Regions from separate parts of the Homo sapiens genome. Here regions 2, 3, 4, 5, 6 and 7 are each linked to region 1. Evidence: promoter capture Hi-C in 16 types of primary human blood cells and fetal thymus (Javierre and others, 2016). All regions are on one chromosome and are shown on one strand. The core of a region is centred on a gene start or on the middle of the fragment in contact, and the rest is flanking DNA. Distances in the headings are between cores, read along the strand shown. Region 1 holds the start of SOS2 (SOS Ras/Rho guanine nucleotide exchange factor 2). Region 2 has its middle 9.2 kb from the start of RPS29. Region 3 overlaps LRR1 (leucine rich repeat protein 1). Region 4 has its middle 12 kb from the start of ABHD12B. Region 5 overlaps DNAAF2 (dynein axonemal assembly factor 2). Region 6 overlaps NIN (ninein). Region 7 overlaps POLE2 (DNA polymerase epsilon 2, accessory subunit).

Evidence for each region. Contacts are between HindIII fragments. The CHiCAGO score rates a contact against its expected background, and 5 or more counts as called.
Region 2: a contact is called between a fragment that was not itself captured here and the fragment with the promoter of SOS2 in region 1, in 2 of 17 cell types (non-activated CD4 T cells and activated CD4 T cells). The highest score is 6.9, in non-activated CD4 T cells.
Region 3: a contact is called between a fragment that was not itself captured here and the fragment with the promoter of SOS2 in region 1, in 1 of 17 cell types (fetal thymus). The highest score is 5.0, in fetal thymus.
Region 4: a fragment that was not itself captured here is called in contact with the fragment with the promoter of SOS2 in region 1 in 1 of 17 cell types (neutrophils); the score reaches 5.4 in neutrophils.
Region 5: a fragment that was not itself captured here is called in contact with the fragment with the promoter of SOS2 in region 1 in 3 of 17 cell types (total CD4 T cells, monocytes and fetal thymus); the score reaches 6.4 in total CD4 T cells.
Region 6: a contact is called between a fragment that was not itself captured here and the fragment with the promoter of SOS2 in region 1, in 4 of 17 cell types (fetal thymus, neutrophils, activated CD4 T cells and 1 more). The highest score is 6.7, in fetal thymus.
Region 7: a contact is called between a fragment that was not itself captured here and the fragment with the promoter of SOS2 in region 1, in 2 of 17 cell types (fetal thymus and total CD8 T cells). The highest score is 5.6, in fetal thymus.

What each region holds. Positions count from the first base shown.
Region 1 is chr14:50,230,102-50,232,916 of GRCh38, reverse strand. It overlaps SOS2 (SOS Ras/Rho guanine nucleotide exchange factor 2), which reads left to right and starts at 1,339. Exons shown (of 23, transcript NM_006939.4): 1 at 1,339-1,720. The coding sequence starts at 1,634. RefSeq lists an enhancer at 428-517 and a silencer at 668-1,747. The HindIII fragment of the contact is 6,352 bases long and covers 460-2,815 here.
Region 2 is chr14:49,575,773-49,578,587 of GRCh38, reverse strand. It overlaps a transcript of RPS29 not described here and the pseudogene RPL32P29. Among named protein-coding and RNA genes, the nearest start is that of RPS29, 9.2 kb to the left of the region's middle. The HindIII fragment of the contact is 2,623 bases long and covers 38-2,660 here.
Region 3 is chr14:49,603,566-49,606,380 of GRCh38, reverse strand. All of the region lies in intron 2 of LRR1 (leucine rich repeat protein 1), which reads right to left. Among named protein-coding and RNA genes, the nearest start is that of LRR1, 6.0 kb to the right of the region's middle. The HindIII fragment of the contact is 5,469 bases long and covers 1-2,815 here.
Region 4 is chr14:50,858,701-50,861,515 of GRCh38, reverse strand. No RefSeq gene overlaps it. Among named protein-coding and RNA genes, the nearest start is that of ABHD12B, 12 kb to the left of the region's middle. The HindIII fragment of the contact is 5,285 bases long and covers 1-2,815 here.
Region 5 is chr14:49,627,602-49,630,416 of GRCh38, reverse strand. DNAAF2 (dynein axonemal assembly factor 2) reads left to right here. Exons shown (of 3, transcript NM_018139.3): 2 at 2,262-2,405. Among named protein-coding and RNA genes, the nearest start is that of DNAAF2, 6.2 kb to the left of the region's middle. The HindIII fragment of the contact is 7,948 bases long and covers 1-2,815 here.
Region 6 is chr14:50,823,677-50,826,491 of GRCh38, reverse strand. All of the region lies in intron 2 of NIN (ninein), which reads left to right. Among named protein-coding and RNA genes, the nearest start is that of NIN, 6.1 kb to the left of the region's middle. The HindIII fragment of the contact is 4,605 bases long and covers 1-2,815 here.
Region 7 is chr14:49,649,403-49,652,217 of GRCh38, reverse strand. POLE2 (DNA polymerase epsilon 2, accessory subunit) reads left to right here. Exons shown (of 19, transcript NM_002692.4): 16 at 841-949; 17 at 1,777-1,953. Among named protein-coding and RNA genes, the nearest start is that of DNAAF2, 16 kb to the right of the region's middle. The HindIII fragment of the contact is 460 bases long and covers 1,194-1,653 here.

The DNA.
Region 1 (2,815 bases), core at 90-2,589:
CCATTCTGATTTTGCCCAAATGAAAAAGTGGTGCATGTTTTGGGGAGAATAATTGCTCAGCTACTGATGCCGGAACTGAATTGTAGTACTGACTTATTTTTTGTACCCTGTTCGTCTTTTCCCTTTCTCACTGCTGGTGGCTAGGGACAGGGAGTAAAATATCTTCTTTACAACCTGTTAAAAGTAATGTGCTCAGCCTCTTTAGTGGGATGAAATTTGTGGTAATGAGTTACCAGAGCCTATGCCTCTTTGGATTGAAAAGCTTGTCAGGATCTTTTCTGGGTTGCTAATGAGTGTTTCCTAGACGCCGATCCAGGTTTTGTAGGACCTGAAGCCTACACAATTTGGATGACACGATTAAGAAAACAATTCGAAAATATCTTGAAAGTTTTGTAAAAACGATATGATTTTGTGAACGCACAGGGGCCCGTGCAAGTGAAGGACCTTTCAATTCAAGCTTGATCAACGTCACTGTCATCTGCCCCTTCTGACCCTACCACCAGGCTAAGGGCTTTCCACGCCTCATCTCTCGGTCCCCACACCATCACCCTAAGAAATAGTTACTGTATCTCCTAACGATATATTATATATAGTACCTACTTTGTGTAAACATACGGTACTCATGAAAACAAGCCACGTAGAGCACAAATACGTTAAATATCCTGTCCAGCCCGAATGCCCCTTTCTCTCCACGTCCCTATGCAGCCTCCCACGACGGTAGTCCTGGGGCTCCAGCGCTACAAGAGTGGCACCGAGTCCGGATTGTCTTAAGCAGGTCGAGAGGAGGGAGCATATGGGTAAAAAGCAGTCAAACTGAAGAGTCTGGAGCGGCCCCCAGCACAGTCTCGGGAAAAGCGGACTCCCCCGGGGCCCCAGGCCCCGCACCCCCGCGCCGGGCTGGCGCCTGTGCCTGCTCCGCGGCGCGCATGCTCCGTGTTAGGCCTCTTGGGCTATTCGGGATAATGAGCGCCGGGCCGAGGGGGCGGGCCGAGCCTCGGCTGCTGGGACTCAGGGCTCAGCGGCGACCCCAAGGCACTCTGCGCTGCTGCTAAAGGGGCAGCAACGGCGGCCAGCGCTGTGCGCGCCATAGCGAGGCTCGCTCGCCCGACGCGCACTCCGGGTCGGTCCCCAGAGCTCTGTGGAGGTGACTCGAGTGGGCAGGGCCGGGCGGCGCTGTCGGCTGGGAGGGCGGGGAGGAGGCGATGAGGAGACGAGCAGCCGCCGCCGCCGCCGCCGCTGCTCACCGCCCGCCGCGGCCGTAGCGGGAGTCGGGGCGGGGCTGGGCCAGCTGTACCCCTGACGGGCCGCGAACCCAGACAAAGGAGGAGGAGCCGCCCCAGAAGCGGGCCAGCGCCGCCGGGAAAGGAGGTCGCCGCCCGGGGTCGCCCGGGCTTGCGGGTCGCCGCGCTTCCTCTGCGGGCGCTGCGGGAGGCGAGGGCCGCCTCGGCGGAGGAAGCCGACCCCGGGGTCTCCGCCAGCCCGCCGGCGCCGCCTCCGAGCCGCCTCGGCCGTAGCCTCGGCCCGGGCGGGAGGCGGCGGCCGCCGGCGAGGCGAGGCGGCCCGCGCCCTGCCTGTCAGGCCACCGGCCCGGCCCGCGGGCTGCCCCCGATGCGGAGGCGCTGTCGCCGGGGCCATGCAGCAGGCGCCGCAGCCTTACGAGTTCTTCAGCGAGGAGAACAGTCCGAAATGGCGGGGACTGTTGGTCTCGGCCCTGCGGAAGGTCAGTGCTAGGGGCGGGGCGGCCGGCGGGTGGCCCGTGGCCCCCCGAGCTTCTAACGGGGAGCAGGTCGTCCCTCCCACAGGGCTCGAGTCCCCGGGGCCGAGCCGTTTCTCGTTGGCTGGCAATGGGGGGCTCACAATTGCCTGTTGCATTCTGAAGGACGTTTCTCAAGTTTTTTTTTTTTGCCTGGTCCCGGAAGGAAGGTTTTGTTATGATCATAAAACTGGATTTCATGTTGCAGTCATTTCGTCAGGCAACTTCCGCCGTTGACCAATTTGTTGTCCTCAGGCTGGAATCGGGCAAGAGAAAGTCCCGCTGGTATTTAGACAGTTTCTAAAACAAAAGCACATTTTCAGGCCGGGTAATTACTTTTAATTAAGTTCTTTGGGAGTGTTCCCCCTAGGCGGTTTGCTTGTCAAGGGTATCCACTTATGAGGCAATGGTTTTTTGTAATATGGATGTTTCACATGTGTGAAATGTCAGTGAGTCATAATATTCTTATTCATTTTACAGTTCTCAAGGTAAATTTAAAGCGCCTTCCCACTTCCTGCAAACGGTGTCTTACCTGTTTACAAGAGATTACCCTTAGAAAATTTGGTCAGTGTCTTCAGTGTCTTCACGACCAAATTGCGATTTAGGACTTGAAATCATTTTAAGGAACAAGAAAGGGGCAACTCCTGCAAATCAGTCTTTCATGTTTGGGTGCATTGCTAGGGTGCATCTTTCCTGTAGATGGTGGCGGTCTTCCTCTGTGAATTTAGGTAGTAACCATACGATCATTTTTATAATAAATCCTTCTGTAAGATCAAGACATTTAAAGACTGTGAATAGGTGCGTGATCAGCTGTCATGCCTGTTGAGCAGGGGCTTTCTTTCTTTGCCGTTAATGCAGACTTAGTCTCTTCTGCCTTTTGTGCAAAATAACCAAGAATACATTCTAAAATAAGGAAAAAATAAAGATTAATTTAAAAGACTATACTTGGAAAATATATCCTCAGACATTAAATTTCTATAAATGAAAGGAAGTAGTGTATTTTAAAGTTAAAGACATTTTCCTCATGCGATGAGAGTTGCAGATTTTCCCTTATTTTCATAA
Region 2 (2,815 bases), core at 100-2,599, 650 kb after region 1:
CCCTGTCTCAAAAAAAAAAAAAAAAAAAGTGAAAGCTTTGGTAAATATTGGTAGTCTACAAAATTGCCGAAAGAAATTTTTTTTATAAAAAGTGAAAAATTGTATATGTGCTACAATTTTATTATGTTAAAAAACAAGTACACAGGGAAAAAAATCAGAAGGAAACATGTCATTATGTTAGCAGCATTTGACTTTGGGTGATGTGATTTATGATTTGATTTGTAGCAGTATCTGATTAAGACTCATTTAGAGATTGAGTATCCAGATACTGCAGTGTATAATGTCCCTGGTACCAATATTGCTAGTGAGGCTTCTGCTCCTCCTAAAACAGCTCATTCTATTTTTAGATTGCTTTGATGGTAAGTTTTTTCTTAGGTTGCTATGATTTCATTCTACTGATTTTGACTGCTACTCATTGATATTAATTCTGTGTTGTCCTGTACAAAACAAGTCTAATCTCTGAAAAAAAAAAGGGCTAAATATTTAGGCATGAAGGCTCTCATGTTTTCCTAGAATCTTCTTATTTCCAGTATAACCATCTCTGATTATTTCAACTGTTTCTCTAAAACATGATTTAGAGTGATCTTTGGTGTTCTCTGAATTAATTCCACTCAATCTAGATCCTGATAGTGACATAACATGTTTCACAGGGCAGGCATGCAGTACAAATTTATTGAATTTGGTTGGGCATCATTGCTTTTTCACTTTTTATGGGTCCTCTTTTACCATTACAGAAAGACCTGAGCTGTCTTCCTTGGCACTGCCTATGGAGGTGACACCCATCTCCTCCATCATGGCCATCCTGAGACCGCTCGCGAAGCCCAAGATCATCAAAAAGAGCACCAAGTTCACTGGGAACCAGTCAGACTGATATGTCAAAATTAAGGGTAACTGGTGGAAACACAGAGGTATTAACAACAGGGTTCATAGAAGGTTTGAGGGCCAGATCTATGCCCAACATTGGTTATGGGAGAAACAAAAAGACAAAGCACATACTGCCCAGTGGCTTCTGGAAGTTCCTGGTCCACAACGTTAAGGAGCTGGAAGTACTGCTGGTGAGCAACAAATCTTACTGTGTTGAGATCACTCATGATGTTTCTTCCAAGAACTGCAAAGCCATCTTGGAAAGAGCAGCCCAGGTGGTCATCAGAGTCACCAATGCCAATGCCAGCCTGCACAGTGCAGAAAGTGAATAGACAGTGAATGTGTTTGTTTTATTGGGGTTTAAATAAAACCAATAAAACTGTAAAAACAAAAACAACAAAAACCAGAGACCCTGGCTTTTGGACAGTTGTTCGTGTGGCTAATGCCCCCAACAGTTTTATTTTTTAAAATTTTATTTATGTATTGTTTTTGAGATGAAGTCTTCCTCTGACTGGAGTGCAGTGATGCAAGCTCAGCTCTCTGCAACTTCCACCTCCCAGGTTCAAGTGATTCTTCTGTCTCAGCCTCCCAAGTGGCTGGGATTACAGGTGCCCACTACCACACCTGACTAATTTTTGTATTTTTGTAGAGATGGGGTTTCATCCTCTTGGCCAGGCTGGTTTCGAACTCCTGACCTCAAGGGATCCTCCCACCTCAGCTTCCCAAAGTGCTGGGATCACAGGCTTGTATTAGTTCATTTTCACACTGCTGATAAAGACATACCTAAGACTGGGAAGAAAAATAGGTTTATTGGACTCACAGTTCCATGTGGCTGGGGATGCCTCACAATTATGGTAGAAGGCAAAAGGCACTTCTTAGATGGCAGCGGCAAGCAGGAAATGAGGAAGACATGAAAGCAGATATCCCTTATAAAACCATCAGTTCTCGTGATACTTACTCACTACCATGAGAAAGTATGGGGGAAACCGCTCCCATGATTCAGTTATCTCCCACCGGGTCCCTCTCACAACATGTGGGGATTATGCGAGTACAATTCAAGATGAGATTTGGGTGGGGACACAGCCCACAAACCATAATCAAGGCATGAGCCACTGTGCCTGGCCTTCAACAGTTTTAAAGCAGCCTGCTTGCATAACCTCTGCTAGGACATCGTTCTTAAAAACTATCTTTAATGGTAATTGGTGTATTAGGGATTTGGGTTTTTAGGTAGGCAGAGAAAAAACACTTCTAGTGGTATGATTAAGAAGGGTATAATAAAGTGTTTTAATTTCCTCAATATTGACAAAAATTGAAAAAAAGAGGCCAGGCAAAGTGGCTCATGCCTGTAATCCTAGCCTTTTGGGAGGCTGAGGCAGGAGGATGGTTTGATGCCAGGAGTTCCAGACCAGCCTGGGCAACATCAGGAGATCCCCTATCTACCAAAATTAAACAAACAAAAAAACCCAAAAACAATTAGCCAGGCGTGGTGGTGCATGTCTGTAGTCCCAGTTTCTCAGGAGGCTGAGATGAGAGGATAACTTGAGCCCAAGAGGTCCAGGTTTCAATGAGTCATGTTTGTATCACTTAAAAAAAAAAAAAAGGCTGCACTATTAGCTGTTTCTCAGGAAGGTTAATGTAGAACATAAAAGGCTCAGTTTGTAGATAGACTGAGTATATGTGTGTGTAGGAATCAAGGCTATACAGGGTCCAAAAATTAGCCTAGATTATGTGTGCTAGTTCCAGGTATCTTCTATCTTTTAGAATTTTAAAAGAATAGAGGCAGAAAGTCACAAGCTTAATCTAGATGAGGTAATTATCATTTAATGTCTTGAACATAAAGTAATTTGCTAAATTAGAATTTATTTTAATTTTTTTGGACATGGCCTTGCTCTATCACCCAGACTGGCATTCAGTGGCACAAACATGGCTTATTGCAACCTCAACCTCCTGG
Region 3 (2,815 bases), core at 178-2,677, 630 kb after region 1:
GGCGACACAAGTGAAACTCGGTCTCAAAACAAAACAAAACAAACAAACAAAAAAGGCTGGGACTGGTGGCTCACGCCTATAATCCTAGCACTTTGGGAGGCCAAGGTGGGTGGATCACCTGAGGTTAGGAGTTCAAGGCCAGCTTGGCCAACATGGTGAAACCCCGTCTCTACTAAAAATATAAAAATTAGTGGGGCATGGCGGCAGGCGCCTGTAATCCCAGCTGCTTGGTAGGCTGAGGCAGGAGAGTTGCTTGAAACTGGGAGGCAGAGGTTGCAGTAAGCCAAGATCGCAAGACTGCACGGCAGCCTGGGCGACAGAGCGACTCCATATAAAAAAAAAAAAAAGAAAAAAAAAAAAGCTAATTTTTGTTGGAACATGGAAGCTATGTAGAGCAAAAGATTGGAAATACAGTATGAGGACAGATTGTAAATGAGCTCAGATGCCAACGTAAAGTGGAGGGATTTTAAGTATGAAAGTTACATGACAAGAACTAAATACTATTTTGGTAGCACTGTACACAATGAACCAGAGTAGGGAAAAGTCTGGAGAAGACCTGGGTCAACTAGGTACAATAAAGCATACTGGTTCACAGACTTGGGATTCACCCATATAACAGCTGAACTATCAAATGGAAGGCAGGTATGACAGAAAACAGCAGAGGACTGAAATAAAGCCTTTATTTTGGGGATAGAAAAAAATGTTGCTGGAAGCAAGAGACAAAGAAGTGACTAAGAAAACTGAAGGTAAACCATAGTGCCCTATCATAGATACCAAGAAAAGAAAGAGTTTTATTAAGAAAAGGGTAATTATCATTGTCAAATTCTACAGAGTGCAAAAATAATGAGAAATAATGATACTGTGATAGACAAGTGAAAAGATCAGTGATCTCTGAGACAGTGTTTTCAGTAAACCAGTAAAGGTCAAAAGATAAAAAGTGGAGACAATGAATTCAGCCTTGTCTTTCTAGAAATTTGTTTTCTTTTTTTAAAATCAGTAAGATCTCAGCTTGTTTTTAGATAGAAAGGAAGAATTAGTGAAAGAATAAGCTGCAAGTCAAGAAAAAAAATGAAAAATCACAAGGAGGAGATGGGACAAAATTATTCCATTCAATCCAAACTCCTTAGTTATCGAACTTTTAATGTTGCAGAGCACTTTGCTTGGAGTTAAAAATAATGCACAGTTGGGCCAGATGTGGTGGACCATGCCTGTAATTTCACCACTTTGGGAGGCCAACGTGGACAGATTGCTTGAGCCCAGGAGTTTGAGACCAGCCTGTGCAACAAGGTGAAACCCTGTCTCTACCAGTACAAAAAAATTAGCCTGGTATGGTGTTGTGCCCCTATAGTCCCAGTTACTTGGGAGGCTGAGAAGGAAGGATCACCTGAGCCTGGAAGGTCGAGGGTGCAGTGAGCTGTGATGGTGCCACTGCACTCCAGCCTAGGTGAGAGTGAGACCTTGTCTCATCAAAAAGAAAAAAAAAGCAAGGTTGAACAACGAGACATTGTTTCCACCCATCAGGAAGGGAAAGAGGAATAGGGCAGAGGGCAGAAGGCAGAAAAAAACCACCAGTTTTAAAATTCTAATGGTTTATAAATTTTTTTTGTTTGAGAAAGGGTCTTGCTCTGTCACCCATGCTGGAGTACAGTGGCACAATCATAGTTCACCGAAGCCCTGAACTTTTTTTTGAGACAGGGTCTTGCTCTATCAACCAGGATGGAGTGCAGTGGCTGCAATCACAGTTCACTGCAGCCTTGACCTTCCAGGCTCAGGTGACCCTCCACCTCAGCCTCCCAAGTAGCTGAGATTACAGGTGCACACCACTATGCCTGGCTAATTTTTTTGTAGAGATGGGGTTTCACCATGTCACCCAGGCTGATCTTGAACACCTGGATTCAAGCAATCCGCCCAACTAGGGCTCCCAAAGTGCTGGGATCATAGGCGTGAGCCACCGTGTCTGGCCTCCAGGTTCTAACTTGTGGGATTAAGTGATCCTCCTGCCTCGGCCTCCCAGGTGTGAGCCACTGCACCCAGCCAGTTTATGGTATTTTTGTTTTGTTTTGTTTTGTTTTGTTTGAGACAGGGTCTGGCTCTGTCGCCCAGGTTGGAGTGCAGTGGTGCAATCTTGGCTCATTGTAACCTGCACCTCCCAGGCTCAAGTGATCCTCCCACCTCAGGCTCCCAAGTAGCTGGCACCACAGGTGTGAAAACCACGCCTGGCTAATTTTTTTTTTTTTTTTTGTGGAGACAGGGTTTCACCATGTTGCCCAGGCTGGTCTTGAACTCCTGAGAGCAAGTGATCCACCAGTCTTGGCCTTCCAAAGTGCTGGGATTACAGGTGTGAGCTATGGCACCCAGCCTCAGTTTATATTTTTATAAGAATGATTACAGTCCGGGCACGGTGGCTCATGCCTATAATCCCAGCACTTTGGGCGGCCAAGGTGGGCGGATCACGAGGTCAGGAGTTTGAGACCAGCCGGGCCAACATGGTGAAACCCGTCTCTACTAAAGATACAAAAAATTAGCTGGGCATGGCGGCACGTGCCTGTAATCCCAGCTACTGGGAGGCTGGGGCAGGAGAATCGCTTGAACCCGGGAGGTGGAGGTTGCAGTGAGCTGAGATCACGCCACTGTAATCCAGCCTGGGTGACAGGGAGAGACTCTGTCTCATTAAAAAAAAAAAAAAAAAAAAAAAAAAAGGAATGATTACAGTAAGGGCCAGGCACAGTAGACAAAAATTCGCCAGGAGTGGTGGCACCCACCTGTGGGTTGCAGTGAACCAAGCTCTTCCCACTGCACTCCAACCTGGGTGACA
Region 4 (2,815 bases), core at 210-2,709, 630 kb before region 1:
GATTCTGGTGTGAGTATTGGGAACAAGTGGCCATTTCTTCCATACAGGTAATGTTGAAGAGGGGACTGTGTCCTTTCTGCATAAAGAAGCAGTCCCCCTGATCTATTCAGGATGGAAGGCACTTTCCAAATTGCCTCTAGAGCAGCATGATATTCTGTGTGGTCCCAGTTTTTATAAAGCAAAAAGTGGCTCAGATAAACTACATAGATGAGCAAGAAATAGGAAAAATTGGTCCTCAGTAGAAATCACAGAGGCAGACTAGTTTCACATCAAAACAGTGATCCAATCTGCTCACTACAGACAAAGGTACCAGGTGAACACAAAGAAGCTGCCCTTTGGTTAATGTTTGAGCCTTATGTCAGAAATTCTCTCACATCACAGACTCTTTGTGATTGAAAGCAAACTTTCAATCATCTTAAATGTAGGGTTTTTATGTAATGTTATAAAATAAACTCTAATGCAGGTCAATAAGTAACTCATGTAGTTTCTCAGGAAGAGGATATCATTAGTAAGACTTACATCACTAATATAACCATAACCACTCCCTCTAAGAATTAAATTTATCCTTTCAGCAAAGGCTCAATGAATTGCAAAAAAAAAAAAAAAAAGTAATCTAATGATATCTTCTCGAATGAAAGACTTGTTGAAAATTCACCTGGGTTATGCAGCTGTCACTAACAAGCTAAAACATTGCTTTCATTCTATACCGTTTGTTGTCATGGGAGCTAATAGGTTGGGGGCGGGGGTGGGTGGGACTTTTCTCCATTTATTTGCAAAGCATAAAATTGATAACAAGCTCTGTGTTGTGATTTTTAGATCAGACACGCGGGGGCAGCAGTGAGCTGATGAGCAGCACAAACAATGGTGACACCTTGGAGCCAGAAAGTTTGAATCTAGAGATTGAGATGCCGGCTAGCTCTGTTTTAAAATTATTTACACCAAAAAGATACACATTTTTAAAACCTTTAAAATTAAATACTAGAGGAATTCCTTCTAGCAGATGTTTCCTGCTCCTCATTAGTGCTTAATTTTCTAATTTCCCTGATGTTTTTGCTTTTTCTATTGACATTTTTTTTTCAATCCGTTGAGGAATTTGATCATTTTAAAGCTGAGAAACTTCCTCCTGACCAGCCGAGTTGAAACCCGGGGAGCACAGGCGGGATATTCCCACCCCACAGGCTCAGAAAACGAGCTCTGTGCGGTGCAGAGAGTAAAAGGACTGCCTTTGTGGGGAGCCCACTTTGGCCTGGAGCTGACAACATCTTGAGAGCAAATCGGTTCCAAGGGCTCCTTTTTATAAAATGGGGAAACACAGCGGCACTCCTTCTTCCTTCCCAAAGACGGATGTGTTTCATCCCTGCCTATCTGGAGCTGCTGTTCTAGTATGGCACAGGCAGATCGCCCATCTCTGAAGAGCAAGATGGGCGTGTACCCGGTTTCACTTTCACTGCAGACAGGAGAGTCTGTACACAAAGGTACCACAGCCGATCCATCTTTTTTTTTTTTTTTTTTTTTTTTTTTTTTGAGACGGATACTCGCTATGTCGCCCAGGCTGGAGTGCAGTGGCGCGGCCGATCCATCTTTAAACCCCCAGCTGAGGCGGCTTGTTTACTGAGGACAGCCTGGTCCACCTGAAGAGGCCGTTGGAGAATGACACCCCAAAGGCAGAAAGGGAGGGATTCCCCACATGGCCCCAGAACAGCCTCACAAGGGCGGCCAGGACAGCCCCTCTTGCTGCGCCTGACAAGAGCCCCTTTGTCAGGCTGTCAGGCCGGGTTTTATTTTTAGACTCAGCCAGGGCTGCCTCCTGCCCGGAGCTTTCCCCTCGCACAGCTGTTGCCTCTGCTTTCCAAAGCCCTAGCCTACCGGTGCTGTGCTTCCCTTGGCCTTGGTGTGGCTTGACAAGTTGGAAGAATGATGGTGGCTTTAAAGAGAAGGGTTGGGGAGGGGTGAGCTCCCAGGCAGGCTCCTGGGCCCTTCCTGCTCAGCCCCGGGTCAGCTTGCTTCCCCCCATCCCAGCATGCACTTCCAGCCCAGGCATTTTAAAACCAAACAATCCAGCTCCCCCAGGATGGGCAGCCTCATTGCACTGGGTGGTTGGTTACCCCTCTGTCTGGGTGTGGGACACTACCTGGCAGTGACCTGTTGAGTAGCCAGTGAGAAAGCTCAGAGCCAGGAGTCAAACTGCACAGCCACTCCTGAACCTCAGGCCCTCCCTGATCAAAAGAGTTCCTTGTATGTATTGTATTCTAGATAGCTTATTTCTTCCACTACAAAAGAAATGTGCATTTATTGTAGCATTTCCATCCAGCTCGACTCTCTAGACAAGTCTAGGCATAATTTTACATTTCCGATGCCATATTGGATTTGTAACTTTGACCCTCCATATGCGTATTTAAAATCCACACTGAGACAGGGACTATCTCTGGGGACTAGGATCAGGGAAATAAGGCTTTTTATTTATACAGTTTTGCTTTTTATTTTCCACACTTTTGTATTGTTTAATCTTTTCCCAAGAAATGAATTTATTGTATTTATTTCTTTAATTGTGCAACTTTTATTTTTTTAAAGATGGGGGTCTCACTCTGTTGCCCAGGCTGAAGTGCAGTGGTGCAGTCATAGCTCTTTGTCACTTAGAATTCCTGGGCTCAACTGATCCTTCCACCTTGGCCTCCCCAGTAGCTGGGACTACAGGTGCAAGCCACCATGCCAGGATGGAAATGAATTATTTTGTAATGTAAAAAATAAAGGAAAGAGGACAGCTCTAACTAAAGTCAGGACTATTGCTATGTTGGACATGCCTCAGCCAGGACTC
Region 5 (2,815 bases), core at 140-2,639, 600 kb after region 1:
TAATATGGTTATTCTCCCCACACCCTAACTATACACCTGTATTCACTTGACATGAACAAACTGCTTTGTGTTTGGGATTCAGGTAAAAGGTGATTTTTGCATTTTCTAGTAATAGTTTAGAAATCTTTTCATGTCAGCATCTTGAAATCTACCTCATTATTTATTTATTTATTTATTTATTTGGGAGACAGAGTCTCGCTCTGTCTCACCCAGGCTGGAGTGCAGTGGTGCGATCATGGCTCACTGCAGCCTCAACCTCCCAGACTCAAGCGATCATCCCACCTTAGCCTCTGGAGTAGCTAGGACCACAGGTGCATGCTACCACTCCCGGCTAATTTTTGTATTTTTTGTAGAGATGAGTTTTGCCATGTTGCCTAGGCTGGTCTCGAACTTCTGGGCTCAAACAATCCACCTGCCTTGGCCTCCTAAAGTGCTGGAATTATAAGCATGAGCCACTGTGCCCAGCCTAATTTTTTTCATAATTTACTTTTTCTCTGGAGCATAGATTCAAAATGCCCTGAATATATGCTCTCTACTTCATTCTTTTAATAACTATACAGTTTGCTAATGTTACGCTGGAGTATCCCAGTGCTTAAAAATATAATACACTTGGCTGGGTGCAGTGGCTCACGCCCGTAATCCCAGCACTTTGGTAGGCCAAGGTAGGAGGACAGCTTGAATCCAGGAGTTGGAGACCAGCCTGGACAACAAAGTGAGACCTGTATCTACAAAAAATGTCAAATTTTTTTTTTTGAGACAGAGTCTCACTCTGTCGCCCAGGCTGGACTCACTGCAATCTCCGCCTCACGGGTTCACGTGATTGCAGTTTTAGTAGAGACAGGGTTTCACTATGTTGGCCAGGCTGGTCTCGAATTCCTGACCTGAAGTGATCCACCCACCTTGGCCTCCCAAAGTGCTGGAATTACAGGCGTTAGCTGCCACACCAGGCCCCAAAAATGTAAAAATTAGCTGGGCATTATGGCATGCACCTGTAGTCCCAGGTACCCAGGCACTTGGGGGCACAGGTGGAGGATTGCTTGAGCCAGGGAGGTCAAGGCTGCAGGGGGCTATGAGTGTGCGACTGCATTCCAGCCTGGGCAACAAAGTGAGACCCTGTCTCAAGGCAAAAAAAAGAAAAAAAGGGGGGCGGGGGCTGGGTGTGGTGGTGGCTCACGCCTGTAATCCCAGCACTTTGGGAGGCCAAAGCAGGTGGATCACTTGAGTGCAGAAGTTTGAGGCCAGCCTGTGCAACAGGGCAAAACCCTGTCTCTACAAAAAAATGCAAAACTTAGCCGAGAGTGGTGGCATGTTCTGTGGTCCCAGCTACTGTAGAGGCTGAGGCGGGAGGATCACTTGAGCCTGGGAGGTCAAGGCTGCAGCGAGCCGTGATTATGCCACTGCACTCCAGCCTGGGAGACAGAGCAAGACTCTGTCTCAAAAACAAAATCAAACAAAAAAACACACCACTTATTTGAAATAAAATACTGTAATTGGCTCTTACCTGCCCAAGAACTAAAAGGTCACACAAAATTTGAATAGATCTTTTCATGTATATTTCTTAGCCACCTCATTAGGAAATGTTTTAAAGCTGAATTATATTTTGTATCTGGGATCCCATTTATAGCCCTAGAGATGATGTTATTCTTCTGAAATACTAAAAGAGGCCAGCTGTGGTTGCTCACACCTGTAATCCCAGCCCTTTGGGAGGCCAGGGCAGGTGGATAGCTTGAGGTCAGGAGTTCAAGACCAGTCTGGCCAACATGGTAAAACCCCATCTCTACCAAAAATACAAAAATTAGTCCGGCATGGTGGCAGTCGCCTGTAATCCCAGCTACTCGGTAGTCTGGGGCAGGAGAATTGCTTGAACCTGGGAGGCGGAGGTTGCAGTGAGCCGAGATTGCACCACTGCACTCCAGCCTGGGCAACAGAGTGAGACTATGTCTCAAAAAAACAAAACAAAAGAAACAAAAAAAGAAAGAAAAATACTAAAAGGTCAGGTTTAATAGACAGAAAAAGTACCAAGACCTCTTTCTTTTAGGTTCTTTTTCTATACGTTTATGTTTGTTCTCAGTACAACTCTTATTGCTCTGTACAATACCAAACTTAAATTTTTCTAAGACAGCTCATAGGAATAACATTAAAATAAACATTTTAAAAAGTGTAACCCTGAACAATGTGAGAATTTTTGTGAGCTGCTTTGAGATACAACTGTTGTCAAGTGGGACTTATTAGGCAGAATATTTTTTCCCTTTTTATTTTAGGAAAGGTTATTTGTCAATGAAGAAAATGTTAATGAGTTTCTTGAAGAGGTCCTGAGCTCTCCATTCAAACAGTCTATGTCCTTGACCCCACCATTAATTGAAGTTCTTCAAGTTACTGATAATAAGATTCAAATTAATGCAAAGGTAAGGAAGTTGATGGGCTCTATAGAGGAGTAATGAAGCACAGAGTTAAAACCTAACAAATTATTGATTTCTTAATATCATAACTTTAAACAAAATTTACATAATGGTTGGGCAGAGTGATGTTAAGAGAAGAAAAGTTTTTCTTTTTTTTTTTTTTGAGATGGAGTCTCCCTCTGTCACCCAGGCTGAAGTGCAGTAGCGCGATCTCATCTCACTGCAACCTCCGCCTCCTGGGTTCAAGCGATTCTCCTGCCTCAGCCTCCCAAGTAGCTGGGACTACAGGAGCATGCTACCATGCCTGGCTAATTTTTTGTATTTTTAGTAGAGATTGGGTGTCACCGTGTTAGCCAGGATGGTCTCGATCTCCTGACCTCATGATCCACCCGCCTCGGCCTCCCAAAGTGCTAGGA
Region 6 (2,815 bases), core at 128-2,627, 590 kb before region 1:
GCAGCATTTTGGCAGCCTTATTTTGAGTTATTTGGAAGGAAAATGCTCAGAATAATTGTCATTATGGGTGGTTATTGAGTGGTAAATGTTTTGATTAATGGTTCTGTGCATCTGCTTCTTATTTAACCATCCCCAGTTAGAACTCCAAAATATTGCCCATACTGGTTCTTTCATTCCGAAAGAGTCATAAAGCCTTCTGACAATTTGACTGGAAAGGTAGATGGTGAGGAGAGGCCCAGGTTTATTATGGCAGGCTTCGTAACACTGGAGCTCTTCTTTGCAATTTGAAGTAGAATTTCTCGCTCAAAATGTAACTTTCTTAATCTCTGAGTAAGACTCCTGCCTCTGGTGGGTACCAGTTAGGATCTGACCCTGAAAAGCACTGGATTGCACAGATTATACATACTTAAGTGTTTATTCAGGGGAAGTCATTTACGAATTACCAATTCCTGGGCAATGCCCATTATTGAAGACATGGGACACTTCATGATCATTTTTATATAAGAATTTCTTTCTTTCATGCCCTAAATCCCAAAGCTGCTTTAGAAAAAAAAGGGAATGTGTATTCTATCTGTATATCCCTGGTGCCTTGTAGGCTATAATTATTCAATAAATGGATCAAGGGAGGTAGGAAGGAAGGAACTCTGCTTCTCAATTCCAATTTGGAAAAGTTTGTGGCCATGGAGTGTTGTGTGGGGATTTCTACTGCTTAGTACTGTTCAACTGGCTAACACATAAAGGTGGAGATAAGTGGTTTGCCAATGGCATCATTTCAGAGGTCTCATTCATGTGTTCTGTGTGCATGTGTAGGATTGAGGGATAATATAATTCAGTGTCACACTAGAGTGCAAATCTTGGCTCCACCCCCATTTTGTTCAAGGAGATTAATGCTGTCTCCTTGGACAGTGGCTTAATTTTGCCAAGCCCCAATTTCTACATCTTGCGTGGGAAAATGAGAAGATCCACTTCTAAGATTTGGGAGGATTAAATGAGATGATATACATAAAGTACTTAGTTTAGGCCAGACTCATAGTAAATGTTCAGAAGTAATTCCCAGTTACAGTGCAGCTTTCTGCTTTTATTTGACATTAAATTTATCAATAACCTGCTTTTAAAGATAGAGGAAGCTCTGAACATTACCTGCTGCCATTATCATTTAGTTATATAATGATGTTTATATACATAGTACACTCCCTGCCCATTCTCAGTCTGTTCTATAGCATTTCACATCTCCTGCTTTGCTTCTTTGGAGGTAGATCTGTAGATAATTCACTTGTTACCTCCTCTTCAGTTTACCACTCCTTTGTAGCTGCAGGTATTCTTTTGGTTATCTTAAATTCCCTCTTGTATCAGCTTTCTCTGGAATTAGCCACTCTCGCTTGCTTGCCACATTTAACTCTCAGAACAAACCTTCCAGATGGATATTGTTATTCTCATGCTGTAATCGAGGGGACTTGAGAAAGGTTTTAGTATAGATTCTCCTCCAAAGTTTCATCCCATAGCAAGACAATGCAGTCGAAGTTTGTGAATCCATTTACTTAATTACTAGCCTATTGAATTAAACTTCAGACAGCGCTGCATGTTACAGATTGGCAGTTGGTGTTGGCTTTCTACTTCTTGCTTAGGAGGCTGAAAATGCCTTTGAGAAAGGGTGGGATGGGGGAAGTGGAGGTGTGTAGGTGGATGAGATGGGCATTCCAAAATTTTCATATGCCCATTTCTGTAGACCTCATTTAGGGTACGTTTCCTCTCAAGGAGTGATCCATACAGGAAGTCAATCCATGATATTTACCAAATCCCTGGCTTGAAGAACAGACTGACTGTAGTATGCATTTGGGGGAAGATATAAAAGAAATAGGAGCGTGGATCTTACCATTAAAGAACTTTCTGCCAAGTGGGGAGAAAAAAATTCTTGCACATGAAATTACTGATGAACATTTGGGAAATAATATCAACCAGTAAAAATGCCTTCTGTGCCAGATGAGCACTGACAACTTGTCACCATGCGTAACATCTCCTGGATGTTTCAGCGTGAGCATTTGTTCCACAGGGGTGGTGCTTGTCTCCCCTTCAGTCAAGCACAGTGTTTTGAGAAGGAAGGAGATGAAATAAAGAGATAAAGAAAAGAAAGCTGCCATAAAATGAAAGAGGTTTGATTTAGTGAAAATCCAATGACCTCCCAAAGAGTGGGGCATGATAGTATATCAAATTCGACACCGTGGATAAGATCAGGGCTTCTCAGTACATCAGTGTTTTATTCCTCTCTTTCATTGGTTTAAGATGGACAAATCCCCGCCCCTTAAAAATAATTTTTAAAAAGGGAAGTGTTAGAATTCTTTCGCTTTTGAGTTTTTAAACATATATGCAAAATCAAGCAAAAGAAGAGTCTTGCTTTTATGAGGTCGGTCAGATAACAGCCCAGGGGACTGTAAAACTCAGAGTGAGACTAAGAGCTACCGCAACACTGAAAATCCTGGAGCACCTTGGGGATTCTCAGCAGATCTTAGTTGACAATTAACTGGTGGACTCTAAGTGAATCTTGTTAGCGAAGTGTTGGCCTTGTCTAAATTCTTAACTCCTGTGGCTTTGCATAACAACTTGGTGTTTCTTTTCTGAGGCTTTGATGTTTATATAACACTCTCAACTTATTTTGAAAACATTTACATAGTGATTAGTTAACCCAACAGACCAATCCTGGGAAGACAGCCAGAGCCTGCAGCACCTTAGTAACAGAAAAACTGATAATTAGGAGAAGAGACCTGTCCAAGACCAGGAACCTGGACCAAAATTGTGCCATGTTGCTTTACTTTAATGA
Region 7 (2,815 bases), core at 174-2,673, 580 kb after region 1:
ATCTCGGCTCACTGCAAGCTCCGCCTCCCGGGTTCATGCCATTCTCCTCTCCGTATTCTATTCTTAACGCAGTGTGAAAGTGATCCTGTAAAGCATAAGGCATATCCCATCCACCTTCCCGATCCTGGAAAAAGGGACCCTCATTGGAAAAAGGGACCCCTCGTGATTTAGTGACAGCCGTATCCTTGCAGTGGTAATCAAGGCCCTGTGTTATCTGGCTCCGTTACCTCTCTGATTTCCTCTCCTCCCCATTTACTCCAGCCACACTAGCCTCCCTTCTGTTCCTCAAGGATGCCAGGCGAGCTCCAGTCTGAGGGCCTGGGCTCCATCTGTTCCCTTTGCCTGCAGTGCGCTTCCTCTGGGTATCTGCTTGACTAAGTCCCTCTTCCGCTTCAAGCCTGTGCTCAAGTCACACTAAATTATGAGCCCGGCCTGTTCTGATCATCCTATTAATATGCCCGCCTTCTAGGCTCTCTCTTACCACATATGCTGTCCCTCTTAGCCTGTCTTTTTCTTTTTCTCTTATGCTTAATTATCTTAAAACATACTATATGATTATGTTCGCTTTTTATTTTCTCAGCCCCACCCCCTACTAGAATGTAAACTGTATGAGGGCTGGGATCTTTTGGTTCTGTTCGCTAATCCCTAGAATGGGGTAGGCATATATTAAGAGCTCAATACATAGCTGTTAAATGAATAGATGAATAGACAGACTCTGGTTGAAGTTTTGTGTGGTGAACAGTGAATGTGGGAATGGGGTTGTATTGTAAGAGATTTTACCTTTAAAATTAATATCATTTTTTTCTGAGAAGTCAAATTCAACTACTGTTTTCATTTCAGAATTCAGTACTGTACACAGGAAATTACTGTCTTCCGTGAAGACTTAGTAAATAAAATGTGCAGAAACTGCGTCCGTTTTCCTAGCAGCAATTTGGCTATTCCTAATCACGTAAGTGAAACAACTTTTTTATTAAACTGCCTTACATGTTGCATTATATAAAATTTTATTAAGCCACTTAATAATTTGTCCTTGGGTTAGGACATTTATTTATGGTTCAAAATAGTTTGAACGTACTTTTGTCAGTAAGTTAATTTTTGTTAGTGAAGTCAGTGTTTCTCAGCTTTCTACCTAAGTGTATGTCCTTTAGAGGACAGAGAAAAGCTGAGAATAAGCATGAAATTTCTTTCAAGCTTCGTGTTTTGCCTTTTAAACTCTTAAATTATACTTGAAAATATATGTATATTTGTTTTAATAAACTGTTCTTATTTATCCCATTGGTTACATATTTTATATAGTATGTCCATATCACAAGAATGTGCAGTATTTATCTTGTAGCTTCGAGGTTCCCTGACAATAGTTGTCAATCACAGGTTACATACACCCCCATTTGAGAAGTACGGAAATAGATGTTACAGAGCATTTTTATTATTCATTTTATAATATTTAAAGTTTATGGACCAGGTGCAGTGGCTTATGCCTGTAATCCCAGCACTTTGGGTGGCTTGCTTGAGGCCAGGAGTTTGAGACCAGCCTGGGCAGCATAATGATGTATATGTTATTAAATGAAAACTCATAGATTTTTTTTCCTAAAATACAGAATAGTTTATTTCACTTTTAAATTAGTGTCTCCCAAAGCTCTGTGAGTCAAAGCTTTCCTAGTTTCTCAAATTTTCTGGTTCCTTTTGGTAATTAATATTTAATTTGAAATTATTTGTTTAGCTATTTTCACTTTTGCAAATGAACTGAAGTTTGCTTTGTTTTGTGCTCTTTTGTAGTTTGTAAAGACTATCTTATCCCAAGGACATCTGACTCCCCTACCTCTTTATGTCTGCCCAGTGTATTGGGCATATGACTATGCTTTGAGAGTGTATCCTGTGCCCGATCTACTTGTCATTGCAGACAAATATGATCCTTTCACTACGACAAATACCGAATGCCTCTGCATAAACCCTGTAAGAATGTAGTTAATCTTATATAGTCATTATTTATCAAGATTAGAGTGCATTTTTTAATTTAAAAATATATATTTAATAAGATTATTGTCGAAGTAAAAATATGCTATTAGTGAAACACTGAATTAAGTTTCTATACACAGAAAGTTGGTATACACAGAAAGTTCTTAAACTTTCAGTATAGTGACTATAAAGTAACATGACTTAAAAAACAAAAAAACAAGCATACCCACAAGCATACCAAAACATAAATCCAAAAGAGTAATTTTCTCCTCTTCAGAACTTATCTTGGGATTCCTTTCTGGGAATTGCTTCAGAGCCTGCATATTGGTGGTACTTGTCCTTTGAGAATGATTTTGATTTTTGGAAATTGCACAGGTCCCAAAAATCTAAGCCTGATTAATATAGAAACCTCATTGGTACATATTTTATTACTTAATTTTATGTAGAACCTTGAAATTGCTTCAGAATCTTGAGGTTGCTTCAGAATTTCTGCAGAAATATAATTGACTTTTAGGCCAGGTATGGTGGCTCACACCTGTAATCCCAGCACTTTGGGAGGCCGAGGTGGGTGGATCACGAGGTCAGGAGTTCAAGACCAGCCTGACCAACATGGTGAAACCCCGTCTCTACTAAAAATTACAATAATTAGCTGGGCGTGGTGGTGCGCGCCTGTAATCCCACCTACTTGGGAGGCTGAGGCAGGAGAATTGCTTGAACCAGGGAGGCAGAGGTTGCAGTGAGCGGAGATCACGCCATTGCACTCCAGCCTGGGCGACAGAGCGAGACTCCATCTCAAAAAAAAAGAAAAGAAATATAGGCCGGGTGTGGTGGCTCACGCCTGTAATCCCAGCACTTTGGG